Linked DNA regions of Homo sapiens: region 2 is linked to region 1. The links are contacts of gene promoters, found by promoter capture Hi-C in blood cells and fetal thymus (Javierre and others, 2016). All regions are on one chromosome and are shown on one strand. The core of a region is centred on a gene start or on the middle of the fragment in contact, and the rest is flanking DNA. Distances in the headings are between cores, read along the strand shown.

Region 1 (6,108 bases), core at 1,789-4,288:
CTGATCGTCAGATAGAACTTCTCATAGGTTAAGCCAGCCAGTTATTTGGGAGAAAGATTTGTGAATGACAGTATTTTGGTGTAAAGCTGCCTCTTACCTCATCGTATCTGTCATTGTAATTGGTCCTGATAGCTTCCACCAGCTTAGCCAAAGCGCCTTTGTCTTCCCTAAAAGGCAGGAGGGGAAACAAAAGTGGGTTTTTTGCCTTAGTTTCCCTTTTAGAATGCAAAAATACCTTTTAGCTCAAGACAGTCTTTTGCCTCAGATGCAATGCTGACCACATGGTTTATTCAGGTGAAGAAATTCTTAACCATCATTGGCAAAAGTTCAGATAAATATATTTCTTAAACTAAAAGATTGGCCTTTAAGGCAAAAGGAAACAACTGTGAGGCATGGATTAAATGAACTGGGGGGAAGTTTGGGGCCAGGCTGTGTACTTACGAGTTCACCTGTGTGAAGGCGACAGTGGTGCAGGTCTTCCTGTGGACTAGACGTCCCAGTCTTGCCTTTCCCTTGATAATGCAGTAAGGGACCCCCATTTTACGACACAGGGCAGGCAAGAAGACAACCAGCTGGAAGAAAGCATTAGCTGAAGACTGTATTTTGACCAAAAGCAGCAAATTTCAGTTAGCTTGTAACAATTGCTCAGGGTTAAAAAGCTCATGGATTCGCACTTCAAGGTTGAATTCAGTGAGAGATTCACATCATTGCAAGAGCCACGCATGTGTTGGATCTGTGTCAGTACTGCCCTCACCCACTTCGGTCCCATCACTGACTTGGCATTAGGTCTACTCTCTCTTCCTGGTACTGCCAGAAGCCCTTGGGTTAGCAGTCAACAGGCAAACGCACCTCGATGGGATCCACGTCGTGTGCAATCACCACCAGCTGAGCTTTCTTGTTCTCCACCAAGGTGGTGACGGTGTTAACTCCTAGAACACACAACCACTTTGTGAGCACTCACAGGGCCTGCTCTAGTCACAAGAAGCTGCTGGGCTCAGCTGCTGACTCAGTGTTAAAAAGCTCGGTTTTACTCTTCACAGTAATTTCAGGCCAAGAAATTTTACATCACTGCAACAGCCCGCCCCCAGTGTTCACCCTAAGGTGGGGCCTACTCACCTGCTCGAAGGACAGGTGGTCTCTTCGTTGGGACGTCCCCTTTGCCAGCAGCCTTCTTCTCGGCCCGGGCCAACAGTCTCTGCTTCTTCTCTTGCTTTGTCTCTGGTCTGTACTTGTGGGCCAGCTTAAGCAGCTGAGTAGCTGGAAAAACACTCTTCAGTTTAGGCTTGGAGTCAAGGTTCTAATCCTTGTCACTTAACACTTAATAACAAATGCTGGACTGCGGTCCTGCTATATGACTATAATTTAATGACAACTGCAGTTCAAGAAGCCTAAGACCATCCCCCTCATGTTCTGGATGAAATAAGGAATCCTTGCCTGAGAAACTCCTTTCCACGCCACAGAACCTCACCTGTTTGGCGGTCCAGGGCCTGGGTGAACTGGTTAATCGCAGGAGGCACTTTCAGCCGCTTATAGAGGATGGCTCTCTGCCGCTGCAACCTGATATAGCGGGGCCATTTCACAAAGCGGGTGAGGTCTCTTTTGGGCTGGATGTCCTGTCCTGAGAAGTAAAGGGTGACACCGAGTGAGGCTCAAATTCCATGTCAAGTTCATGTCTGGGGCCACTAGGAAGGGTGTTGGTGCATCAGCGATCTTGGTGGTTTAAAATGTCATCACCATCTCTCAGATAGCAAATATTCTTTTACATCATCTGCACACAAACACCTGAGAACAAAGAGCACGATGCTTTTCCTCATCTAACAAGAAGCCAAGGTGCCACGAAGTACAGCAGAATTGCAGTCCTAGTACCTCGCTGCGACACTGCTACTGTACTTGTTTCCAGATGGCTAAGCTGAATTCAAGGCCACTACCATATTGAGCTGAATGCTCGCTCAGCAACTCCCAATGAAAGCAAGAAGCATGTATCATTGCCCCCGTCTCTAAGAGACACAAATTAAGGACTGCGACCACTTTACACCCACTAAAACCTACAAGATACAACACAACCCAATTACCACCTTCCCTTGAGAAAAACATAGACCGTTTTCATTCTGCCGTTTGTTACTTACCAATGCCAAAATTCTTAGGCCTTTTCTCAAACAGGGGATTCACCACTTTCTTAGCCTCCTGCTTCTTCACGACAGCTGGGGCCGGAGCCACCTTCTTTCCCTTGGCCTTCTTTCCTTTCGGCTGGGCAGAAAGAAAACGTCAGTTAAACCGCCGCCTCCACTCGCTTCGTCGGGGGTAGGGCTCAGGCTGGCTCCTCCAAAACAAGGGACGCTGACAGCACCTGCCTGAACTAAGCTGGCGAGCAGCTTTCTGCAACCCCCCAGCACCACCCCTCGACAGGAGCATCTCACATTCAGCCGCACAAGCATGCAGCCCCGGGAACCCCGAGTGGCCAGAGCAAGGCTAAGCCCGAGACCACGCTCTCTTCGCGTCGCCCACCCAGGAGACACCCCGGACTCATGACTCCTCTGAGTCGCGGCCCCACAGGCTCTAGAAGCAACAGGGGCGGGCTCAGAACTCGTCGCTCACAAGGCCTCTGGAGCGGCCCCCAGCAAGCCCGAGAGACGCTAGGGCTCCGAGCCCCGCACTGCGGTGCTCCAGGCCTGCGACACCCAGCCCTGCGACACCGGGAACAACGCATTCCGCTCTCGGCCGCCCGGGGCTCTAGTCCATCTCAATGTCTCCGTGCCACACCAAGTGGGGCTCTAATCCACCTCGGTGTCTCCGTGCCACACCGAGTGGGGCTCTCCTAGCGCCAGGAGGAGCAGGAGGCCCTCCGAGGCCGCGCCTGGAGGAGGATGGCAGCGGATACAGCCGGAACCTGGCTATAGTGCCACGGAACTACAGCTCACTCACCATCTTGGGCGGCGGGAGGAGAGAGAAAGGAAAGGGAATTGTGGGTAATATGTATGCGGCCTCGGAGATCGCGAGAGTTGATACCGGCACGGGATTTCGGATTTAAAGCAACAGCATTCCTATAAAGCTAAAAATCGAGGCGGGGCCGAGAGGCTGCGGCGGCTGACTAGGTTTTCGGACCGCGGCGCGGCGGGGAAGAGAGACTGCGGCGGGAGGGCCAGGCCGTGGGAGAGACGCGGGAAAGTGCGGGTCGCAGAGGCACTTGACCACCCCGCCCTAGGCCGACCCGGCGGACGCGGCGTCTGGTGTGCGGGCGCTGGGGCGGGTATGAGGGTGTGGTGGGGGGTGGGGATGGAGGGGGGGTGGGTGTGTGGGCGGGAGTGGGGGTGGGTGGGTGCGTAGGCGCTGGGGTCGGAGATCCCCTTTCCTGCGTGTGACTTATTTCCCACACCCCGCCAAAAATGGGCACAAACAATGCGAGTGCGTCCAGGAGTCCGCTCGGTCGTGCGCCAGACTCCGAACCTAGGGGGCCCCGGGCCCTCCCTGAGCACCGCGCGCAAAGGCCCGGCCCCAGGGCCAGGCAACTCCAGCGCCGAGGCCGTCCAGTGCGGCTGGAGGGCAGAGGCCGAGAGGCGCGGCGCGGAACTTGAGCCCCTTGTCCCGGCGCACCGGGGAACCATGAGGGATGTTAAGCGAGGGAGTGGAATTACCCCCCTTTTTTTTTTCTTTTGGAGACGTAGTCTCCCCCTGTCGCCCAGGCTGGAGTGCAGTGGCGCGATCTCGGCTCACTGCGACCTGTGCTTCCCGGGTTCAAGCGATTCTCCTGCCTCAGCCTCCCGAGTAGCTGGGATTACAGGCGCCTGCCATCACGCCCGGCTAATTTTTGTATTTTTAGTAGAGTTGGGGTTTCACCATGTTGGTCAGGCTAGTCTCAAACTCCTGACCTCAGGTGATCCCTGCCTCGGCCTCCCAAAGTGCTGGGATTACAGGCGTGAGCCACCGCGCCCGGTTGGAATGACCACTTTTTAGGACCTCTTCCCTGCCGCGCAGAGACTGGAGGGAGCGGGGCCCGCAGTGCAGGGATGAGGTCTGGAGCGGGGCAGCCTGAGTGGGAGTGGAAGGAAAGCGTGGATGTAGGCGGTGCAGAGGGGTCGAATTGGAAGGACTCTTCGGATGGGAGGGCGTGGCGAAGGTGGCGGCGGGCTAAGAAGTTAAGCCAAGGGCTGGGGACGGGGAGCTGGTGTTGAGTTTGCAGGGCTCCCTGGGACACGCTGTGGGCCTGGACGTGAAGTCTGGACTGGAGCCCTGGACAGGGCTTGGAGGGCTGGCCAGGAGTTCCAGGATGAGCTTGCTCTGGCAAAGGCGGGGCCAGTCCTGGCACCCCCTGCGGTGTCTGCTGATGGAATGAGTTCATCTGTGTTTCAGTGATTGACTTTATTTGGCAGAAAGGGAATCCCCAGAAATCTGCGTGTTCTGCTAAGGTTGGGGCATAGAGGGTGGCTGGGGTAGACTCTGCCTGCACTCAGAGGTCTGTGCTGCACTCTAGGTCCCAGGTCTCCCCGCTGCGCTGCTTGAGGCTCGGCCATGGCCCAGCAGAGAGCCCTGCCCCAGAGCAAGGAGACGCTGCTGCAGTCCTACAACAAGCGGCTGAAGGACGACATTAAGTCCATCATGGACAACTTCACCGAGATCATCAAGACCGCCAAGGTGGGGGTGGGGTGGCCCACCAAGGGGAGCAGAGTCTGAGAAGGGGTGGAGACAGGAGAGGCCAGGGGCTGAGCAGCGCGAGTGAATAGTGTTCTAGGCAGGAAGCACCCAGTGCACAGGGAGCTGGTCAGTAGATAAGCAAACCAAATAATGGCACGTCCAGCCCTTACTAACAGTATGGATTTGGATGGAGATTTCACTTTTTAGTGCCTCAGTTTCTCCTGCATGGTGGGGTCCTTGTGATGACTGGTGAGTTTATCTGTGTAAAACAGTTACCTCGGGGCCTGGCACACAGCCAATGAGCAGGAGAAAAGCAGACTGAGGGGAGAAGTGGGGGGGGGCCTCCAGGCAGGTGGAGCGGTCAGCACTGGGGCCTGCAAGCCTGCTGACCACTGCAGCTACAGCTGCATCAGATTGGGCTGGATCCCTCCTGGCTGCTGCAGACCTGGCAGGCTCCATAAGCGATGATGATGAGGATGGAAGCTAGCATGTACTTAGTGCTTGCCATGTATCAAGCCACGTTGTGAGGTTATCTGTGCCTGTTCTGCTGAATCTTCATGAGGACTCTGTGAGGTGGGCACTGTTGTCCTCTTCATTTCAGGAGGAAACCCAGGCCCAGGAGACTTAGTGACTTGCCCAAGGTCACTCAGCTCACAACTGGCTGAGCCAGGATTTGAACCCACGAAGTCTGGGTCTTAACCACTGAGGGTACCTGACACCCACCCCGAACTGAGCCTTTGCAAGGCCTGCCGGGAAGCCCCATCCAGCCTCGCTTGGCCACCTATACACCAGGGGTGGCAGGCCAGGCTTCTGTGAAACTGGCATGGGTTAATGGTGGTCAAGTGCATGACACAGCCTGGCACCTGGGAAGTGATCAGGAAATGGTCGCGAAAAAAAACTTAAATCATCCCTTCACTCATCCAACAGTTTACCAAATGCCAAGCAAGTGACAACGGTTCCTACCAAACAGGGCTCCCACAGCCCAAAAAGACCGGGCCAAGATAAGCCCCCATCCCTGCACCTAGTACAGCAAGCAGCGTGGGTTGCCTCTATTTGTCTTGAGCAAAGGTGCATGTTGTCTCCCATGGCCAGAACAAGAGAGGGTGGAATTGAACCTTGTCAGAGGTCTGGCTGACAGCGCTTAGGTCTGTAGATGGCACCACAGACAGGTTGTGGCCAGTGTGGACATCCTGGGTAGATGACAGTTACCGTAAGCTGGGCTGGGCCGGGCCAGGGGTGGGGATGCCTTGGCTGGGTTGATTTCTAGGTTTTCTTGTTTTCCCCCAGATTGAGGACGAGACGCAGGTGTCACGGGCCACTCAGGGTGAACAGGACAATTACGAGATGCATGTGCGAGCCGCCAACATCGTGAGTGGCCAGGGTGGAGGGCACGGCCTGGGCTCCAAGAGCATCAGTCCCCTCAGGTTTCCTGGGTGGAGTGGAGGGGGCTCTGGGGCTGGTCTGGTCTTCTTCCCCCGA
Region 2 (6,108 bases), core at 1,934-4,433, 130 kb before region 1:
GCCGGGTGCAGTGGCTCATGCCTGTAATCCCAGCACTTTGGGAGGCCGAGGCGGGCGGATCACGAGGTCAGGAGATGGAGACCACCCTGGCTAACACGGTGAAACCCCGTCTCTACTAAAAATACAAAAAATTAGCTGGGCGTGGTGGCAGGCGCCTGTAGTCCCAGCTACTCAGGAGGCTGAGGCAGGAGAATGGCGTGAACCCAGGAGGTGGAGCTTGCAGTAAGCTGAGATGGCACCACTGCACTCCAGCCTGGGGGAAAGGGCGAGACTCATCTCAAAAAAAAAAAAAAAAGGCTGTTAAGCAGGGTTCTGTGCAAGAAGGCTCACACCGGCTCATTCTTTTAGCCAAAAACTGTGCTACATCCGTAAAACACTACACTACGCGGCTGCAAATAAGAACAAACCACTGAACATCAGCAAACCACTGATAAATTTCATAAACATGCTGAAAAAAGAAGGCAGACAAAAAAACAGTGCTTCACATAGGTTCTCTTTATAAGACCACTGTAATCTATCGTCACAGGAAGCAGATTAATAGTTTACTGGGGAGGCCGGGCGCGGTGGCTCATGCCTGTAATCCCAGCCCTTTGGGAGGCCGAGGCCGGCAGATCACGAGGTCAGGAGATCAAGACCATCCTGGCTAACATGGTGAAACCCCATCTCTACTAAAAATACAAAAAAATATTAGCCGGGCATGGTGGCGGGCACCTGTGGTCCCAGCTACTCAGGAGGCTGAGGCAGGAGAATGGCATGAACCTGGGAGGCGGAGCTTGCAGTGAGCCGAGATCGCACCACTGCACTCCAGCCTGGGGGACAGAGTGAAACTCCCTCTCAAAAAAAAAAATAGTTTACTGGGGAGCAGGGAAAGGAGGTTGACCTCAGAAAGGCACAAAGAAACCTTCTAGAAGGGTGGAAATGGGCTGGGCGTGATGACTCACGCCTGTAATCCCAGCACTTTGGGAGGCCAAGGCGGGAGGATCACCTGATGTTGGGAGTTTGAGACCAGCCTGGCCAACATGGTGAAACCCCATCTCTACCAAAAATGCAAAAACTACCCAGGTGTGGTGGCGGGCGCCTGTAATCCCAGCTACTCGGGAGGCTGAGGCAGGAGAATCGCTTGAACCCAGTGGTCGGAGGTTGCAGTGAGCCGAGATCGCACTACTGCACTCCAGCCTGGGCAACAGAGAGAGACTCTGTCTCAAAAAAAGATAAAAGAAAGAAAGAAAAGGTGGAAATGTTTTATATCTTGATTGGGGGTGTTTGGGGTTATACAATTGTCAAAACTCATCAACCTATATTTAAAATGGATTCATTTTACTGTATATAAATTATAGCTTAACAAAGTTGATTTTTCTTGTATTTTATTTTTTCAAGAAGGCTCTCCCTCTGTCACCCAGGCTGGAGTGCTGTGGTGTGATCACAGCTCACCGCAGCCTCAAACTCCTGGGCTCAAGCAATCTTCCCACCTCTGCCTTCCGAGTAGCTGGGGCCACAGGCACTTGCCATCACACCTGGACAACTTTTTTAGCTTTTTGTAGAGACAGGGTCACTTTGTTGCCCAGGCTGGTGTCAGACTCCTGGCATCAAGCAATTCTCCTACCTTGGCCTCCTAAATGCTGGGATTACAGGCACACACCACTGCACCTGGCCTAAAGTTGATTTTAAAAGAAAAAAAATACATTTTAAAAAAAGAGAAGGCCGGGTGCGGTGACTCACGCCTGTAATCCCAGCACTTTGTGAGGCTGAAGCGGAAGGATCACAAGGTCAGGAGTTCAAGACCAAGCTGGCCAACATGGTGAAACCCCGTCTCCACTAAAAATACAAAAATTAGCCGGGCGTGGTGGCACATGCCTGTAATCCCAGCTACTTGGGAGGCTGAGGCAGGAGAATCGCTTGAACTCGGGAGGTGGAAGTTGCAGTAAGCTGAGATCGTGCCACTGCACTCCAGCCTGGCCAACAGAGCGAGACTCCGTCTCAAAAAAAAAAAAAAAAATACACATATAGATATGTAAAAATACATACACATATATATGTATATACGTATATATATGGCCACGAGGACTGTGCAGCCTGATCACCATACCAGGGTGTGCCTGAGTCCAAAGCCTATGATCTTGATGGCAAGAAAACGGTGACGTAAAGGGGCTGCACAGTTTAATGGGGGCCCCAATAGCAAATATGCAAAATAGGCACATGAGGAAAAGACTGGAAGAGGCTAAAACGCCATCAAGGTCAGGCTGACGGGAGATGGATGTGATTTTATTGTTCTATTATGGTTGTATTTCAATCATAATAAAAGGGAATTCTAACTTTTAAAAATGCTTTACCATGTTAATAGCTAAAATGGGAAATGACCCAAATACTCAGCAACAAAGGCTCCGTTTAAAAGCGTGTGTGGCACGTCCATCCAACAGAGCAGGGCGTGATTCCGTCCTCTTCCCGAAAAGGCCCAAAGGGAGAGGTGGAACTGCTGTGGGATTTTTTGAGGACGGTCTTCCCGGGAATTTTCCATTTCTGCTTTTCTTATTTTTCAATGTTATCTTACTACCTGGGTTACGTGTCACGAGCTCAGGTTATTTCTACCACCAGAGCCTGGGGTGGAGGATACAGACCTCGCCCACTGGAGCTGCCCACAGCGCCTCGCCGGCCCCTCCTGCCTCCTTCGTCCCGCACATCCGCTGCTGCCCTGACACACCCCGATTCCCTGGTGCCAGGGAGAGCCAGGGCAGAGGTGGCCCTGAGACGCCACGCGACGGGGAGGGCTAGAGCGTAAGGAGGAGCGAGGTGCGCATTCGCTGTGACCCTGGCGCTCGGCTTCGCCTCTCTGGGCCTCGGTTTCCACCCCGCGGGAGCGAGTACGACAGGGGCTGCGCGCATTGCCGCAGTCACGCCTGCAAGAGCCGGGCCGGGTGAGCCGCTTCCGGCGCTCCGCGGGGGCCCCGGACGATCCAGCAGGGGCTCCGCCCTGGGACCCCCATCCTGTCTTGGGGCGTGACCTTCGGGGGCGCACGCGGTGCCGGCCGCGCCCGGGGAAGCCGGGTCCGCATCCGAGCATCAGGACAGCCTGCGGCCGCCCCATTGGCCGGCGTGTCTCTGCAGGGCCGTCCCACAGCCAATAGCGGCCAAGGGGCGGAGCCTGGCCGGTGCCCTCGGAGCTGCTGGCCCCGGGCGGCTGCTCCAGTCTGAGCGCCCTCCGCTCGCCCCGAGAGAGACCCGGCCATGCAGGAGCCGCTGCTGGGAGCCGAGGGCCCGGACTACGACACCTTCCCCGAGAAGCCGCCCCCGTCGCCAGGGGACAGGGCGCGGGTCGGGTGAGAGTCGCTAGGTTGGGGGCTGCGGGTGGGGCCTGGGGGTGGCCCTGGTTCCCTCCAGCCGGCGGCAGGCTCCCGCCCTGGGCCTCCCCTGACCTAGTCGCCACCGAGGGGCCATCTGGCTCCCTCCTGTCCCAGACACGCTACTCCTATTTAAGGAACTGGTCCCCCTAAGGGAAGGAACGATCCACGAGAGTACCGGGCCCAGCCCCCCACTGCCACAGACAGTGAGACTGAGGCCCCAGCGAGCAGGGGTTCTGCCTGAGGTCACACAGCAAGCCTCCAGCCGCCGCCCTGGGGGCAGAACCAGAGCCTCCTCTTCCGGAGAAAAGGCCCCAGCACCAGAGGCTCAGCCACTGCGGATGAGCTAACAATGGCCTGGGAATTTCCCAGGGGAGCTGGGGCTCAGGCCCTGGGAACGTGAATGGCCTTGGACCCAGGCCTCCCTAGCACTGCCCGCTGAGCCGGGCAGCCACTGGGTTCAGAAAAGGCAATGGTCCCTGGAGGAGGGACTCAGAGACCCTGGTCTTTTTGTCCGCCACCATCACCAGGACCCTGCAGAACAAAAGGGTGTTCCTGGCCACCTTCGCCGCAGTGCTCGGCAATTTCAGCTTTGGGTATGCCCTGGTCTACACATCCCCTGTCATCCCAGCCCTGGAGCGCTCCTTGGATCCTGACCTGCATCTGACCAAATCCCAGGCATCCTGGTTTGGGGTAAGGACCATCCTCTGGAGGAGGGTGGGTGCAGGAAGGAGGGACCTGCTGAGCCTTATCTCCAGCTAGGAACCTCCCAAATTCTCCACCTTGGGGGTCCCTCCAGGGCCCTGGTCCCCCCTCCCCCAGCCATCCAGGCCACTAGTGGGTGGGGTAAAGCTACAGGATTCCTCTGAAATGAGGAACTGAAAGCCAGTGGAGAGGGTGAGGGAAGGAGCAGGTGGGGAGGTGGCTGTCAGGGTCTATACTAGGTGGGGCTGAGGCTTCCCCGGGTCCCCACACCCACAGTTGGCTGGATGGGGGCAAGGGTATCAGGTGTCAGTGGGGAGAGGCACTGGCTGGGGCAAGGAGAGTCCGCAGGACAGATTGTGGGCTGATGGAGAGGAAGATCCCAGAGTCCCAGAGTCTAAAATTATAATCTTAATAGCCTCATATGTAGAGTTGTTAACATAGTAGTTAAGATAAAAATTCCCAAGGTTTACTGAGCACTTCCTATGTGCCAGGCATGTGTTGGGCACTGAACGTTCATTGATTCTCAGGGCCAACGCCACGAGGTAGAACTTGCGCTCTCCCCATAAGACAGCTGAAGAAACTGAGGTGCAGACAGGCTGGGCAATGTGCCCAGGTCCCACTACCAGTTAGCAGAGTCCAGAGGGGGTCCCAGTTGCTGCTGTACAGGGAACTTAAGAACCTCCAAATCTTAAAGCCCAGTACCTTCAAGTCACAGAATTCTCCTGTATTAAAATATTAGACATTTAAACATCAGGCTGGACAGAACCACTGTGGATATGTGGCGCAGCACCTCTTCCTTAGAGCAGAATTCCCCGTTTGGGCATCCCTAACAAATGGCTGTTCCTTGAAGACAGGAGGCTCCCTGTTTCAAGTGCTTGACTTGGCCAAGTGCTTGACCAGCTCCTGGGGTCGGCCTAGGGAAGAAGCTGTCCCTGGACTCTGATGAGATTGGGGTGCCAAGTGCCCAGACATATCTGCCCTGCACCCCCTTCCCCTGCAGTCCGTGTTCACCCTGGGAGCAGCGGCCGGAGGCCTGAGTGCCATGATCCTCAACGACCTCCTGGGCCGGAAGCTGAGCATCATGTTCTCAGCTGTGCCGTCGGCGGCCGGCTATGCGCTCATGGCGGGTGCGCACGGCCTCTGGATGCTGCTGCTCGGAAGGACGCTGACGGGCTTCGCCGGGGGGCTCACAGCTGCCTGCATCCCGGTAAGGCCAGGCCTTCCCACCCAGGCGCCCCAATGCCTCTGTATTGGTGCTGAGCCTCCATCTGACTAAGGCCTCCCAGCCTCCATGCCTTCTGGGCAATGAGAATTGTTTGCCTTCCCTGCGGATGCCCAGGGCGCCTCAGCTCACCCCCAGCAGGGCAGCTAATTTGGGGGAAATTGTCTCCAGGTCCCCAGCTGCCCCCACTCTGGACTTTCCAAGCCTTCTACCCCGTTTCTTGACCGGTCAGATGTATTACTCAATTGGAGAAAATCCGCATTGAGCAATGGGTAGGAGAGGGAAGTCCCTGCCCTACACCCTCCCCGGGACCTTCTTATCTTATGTGGTACTCCACACGGGGCCTGGTGGTGAGCCCAGCAGAGGAGACAAAACTCACTGGGAGGCATGGACTCACCTGCTCAGCCCTGAAGCCTGGGAGCCCTCGGGCCTCCTTCCCAGCGTCATGCTGCCCATTTCCGAGCTGCGTACTTCCACCCACGTCACAGTTAGGGAAACTGAGGACAGAGAGAGATCAGGCAGGCCGCCCAAGGTCTTGCAGTGAGTCATGACCAGGACTCAGCCCCACCAGAAAGCCTCCACTTCCCACTTTCCGGGGTTCACAGGGGCTGACTCTCCCATCTCGGCCGGGCCTAGGAACCAGTATTTTCAGCAAAACCTGGTGCGGCGGCTGTGTCTTGCAGGTGTACGTGTCTGAGATTGCTCCCCCAGGCGTTCGTGGGGCTCTGGGGGCCACACCCCAGCTCATGGCAGTGTTCGGATCCCTGTCCCTCTACGCCCTTGGCAAGTATGGCCCCGCACTCCTGTGTGCAGGCTGGTGGGAGGGGTGGGTGCCGCCAAGGTAGA

The links. The method cuts DNA at HindIII sites, captures the fragments that hold promoters and counts their contacts. A CHiCAGO score of 5 or more calls a contact.
Region 2: the fragment with the promoter of SLC2A6 here is called in contact with the fragment with the promoter of MED22 in region 1 in 3 of 17 cell types (endothelial precursors, M1 macrophages and total B cells); the score reaches 7.6 in endothelial precursors.

What each region holds. Positions count from the first base shown.
Region 1 is chr9:133,345,061-133,351,168 of GRCh38, reverse strand. MED22 (mediator complex subunit 22) reads left to right here and starts at 3,038. Exons shown (of 5, transcript NM_133640.5): 1 at 3,038-3,247; 2 at 4,469-4,629; 3 at 5,917-5,997. The coding sequence starts at 4,507. RPL7A (ribosomal protein L7a) reads right to left here and starts at 2,951. Exons shown (of 8, transcript NM_000972.3): 1 at 2,923-2,951; 2 at 2,127-2,247; 3 at 1,469-1,618; 4 at 1,117-1,257; 5 at 850-929; 6 at 442-572; 7 at 98-167. The coding sequence starts at 2,925. It overlaps SNORD24 (small nucleolar RNA, C/D box 24), which reads right to left and starts at 1,773; the gene lies at 1,699-1,773. It overlaps SNORD36B (small nucleolar RNA, C/D box 36B), which reads right to left and starts at 1,075; the gene lies at 1,005-1,075. It also overlaps SNORD36A and SNORD36C. RefSeq lists enhancers at 2,530-2,999, 2,861-3,155, 4,460-4,961, 4,962-5,465. The HindIII fragment of the contact is 16,795 bases long and covers 1-6,108 here.
Region 2 is chr9:133,476,174-133,482,281 of GRCh38, reverse strand. SLC2A6 (solute carrier family 2 member 6) reads left to right here and starts at 3,183. Exons shown (of 10, transcript NM_017585.4): 1 at 3,183-3,314; 2 at 3,866-4,028; 3 at 5,041-5,247; 4 at 5,946-6,045. The coding sequence starts at 3,223. RefSeq lists enhancers at 2,672-3,173, 3,594-3,653 and a silencer at 2,784-3,433. The HindIII fragment of the contact is 7,664 bases long and covers 1-6,108 here.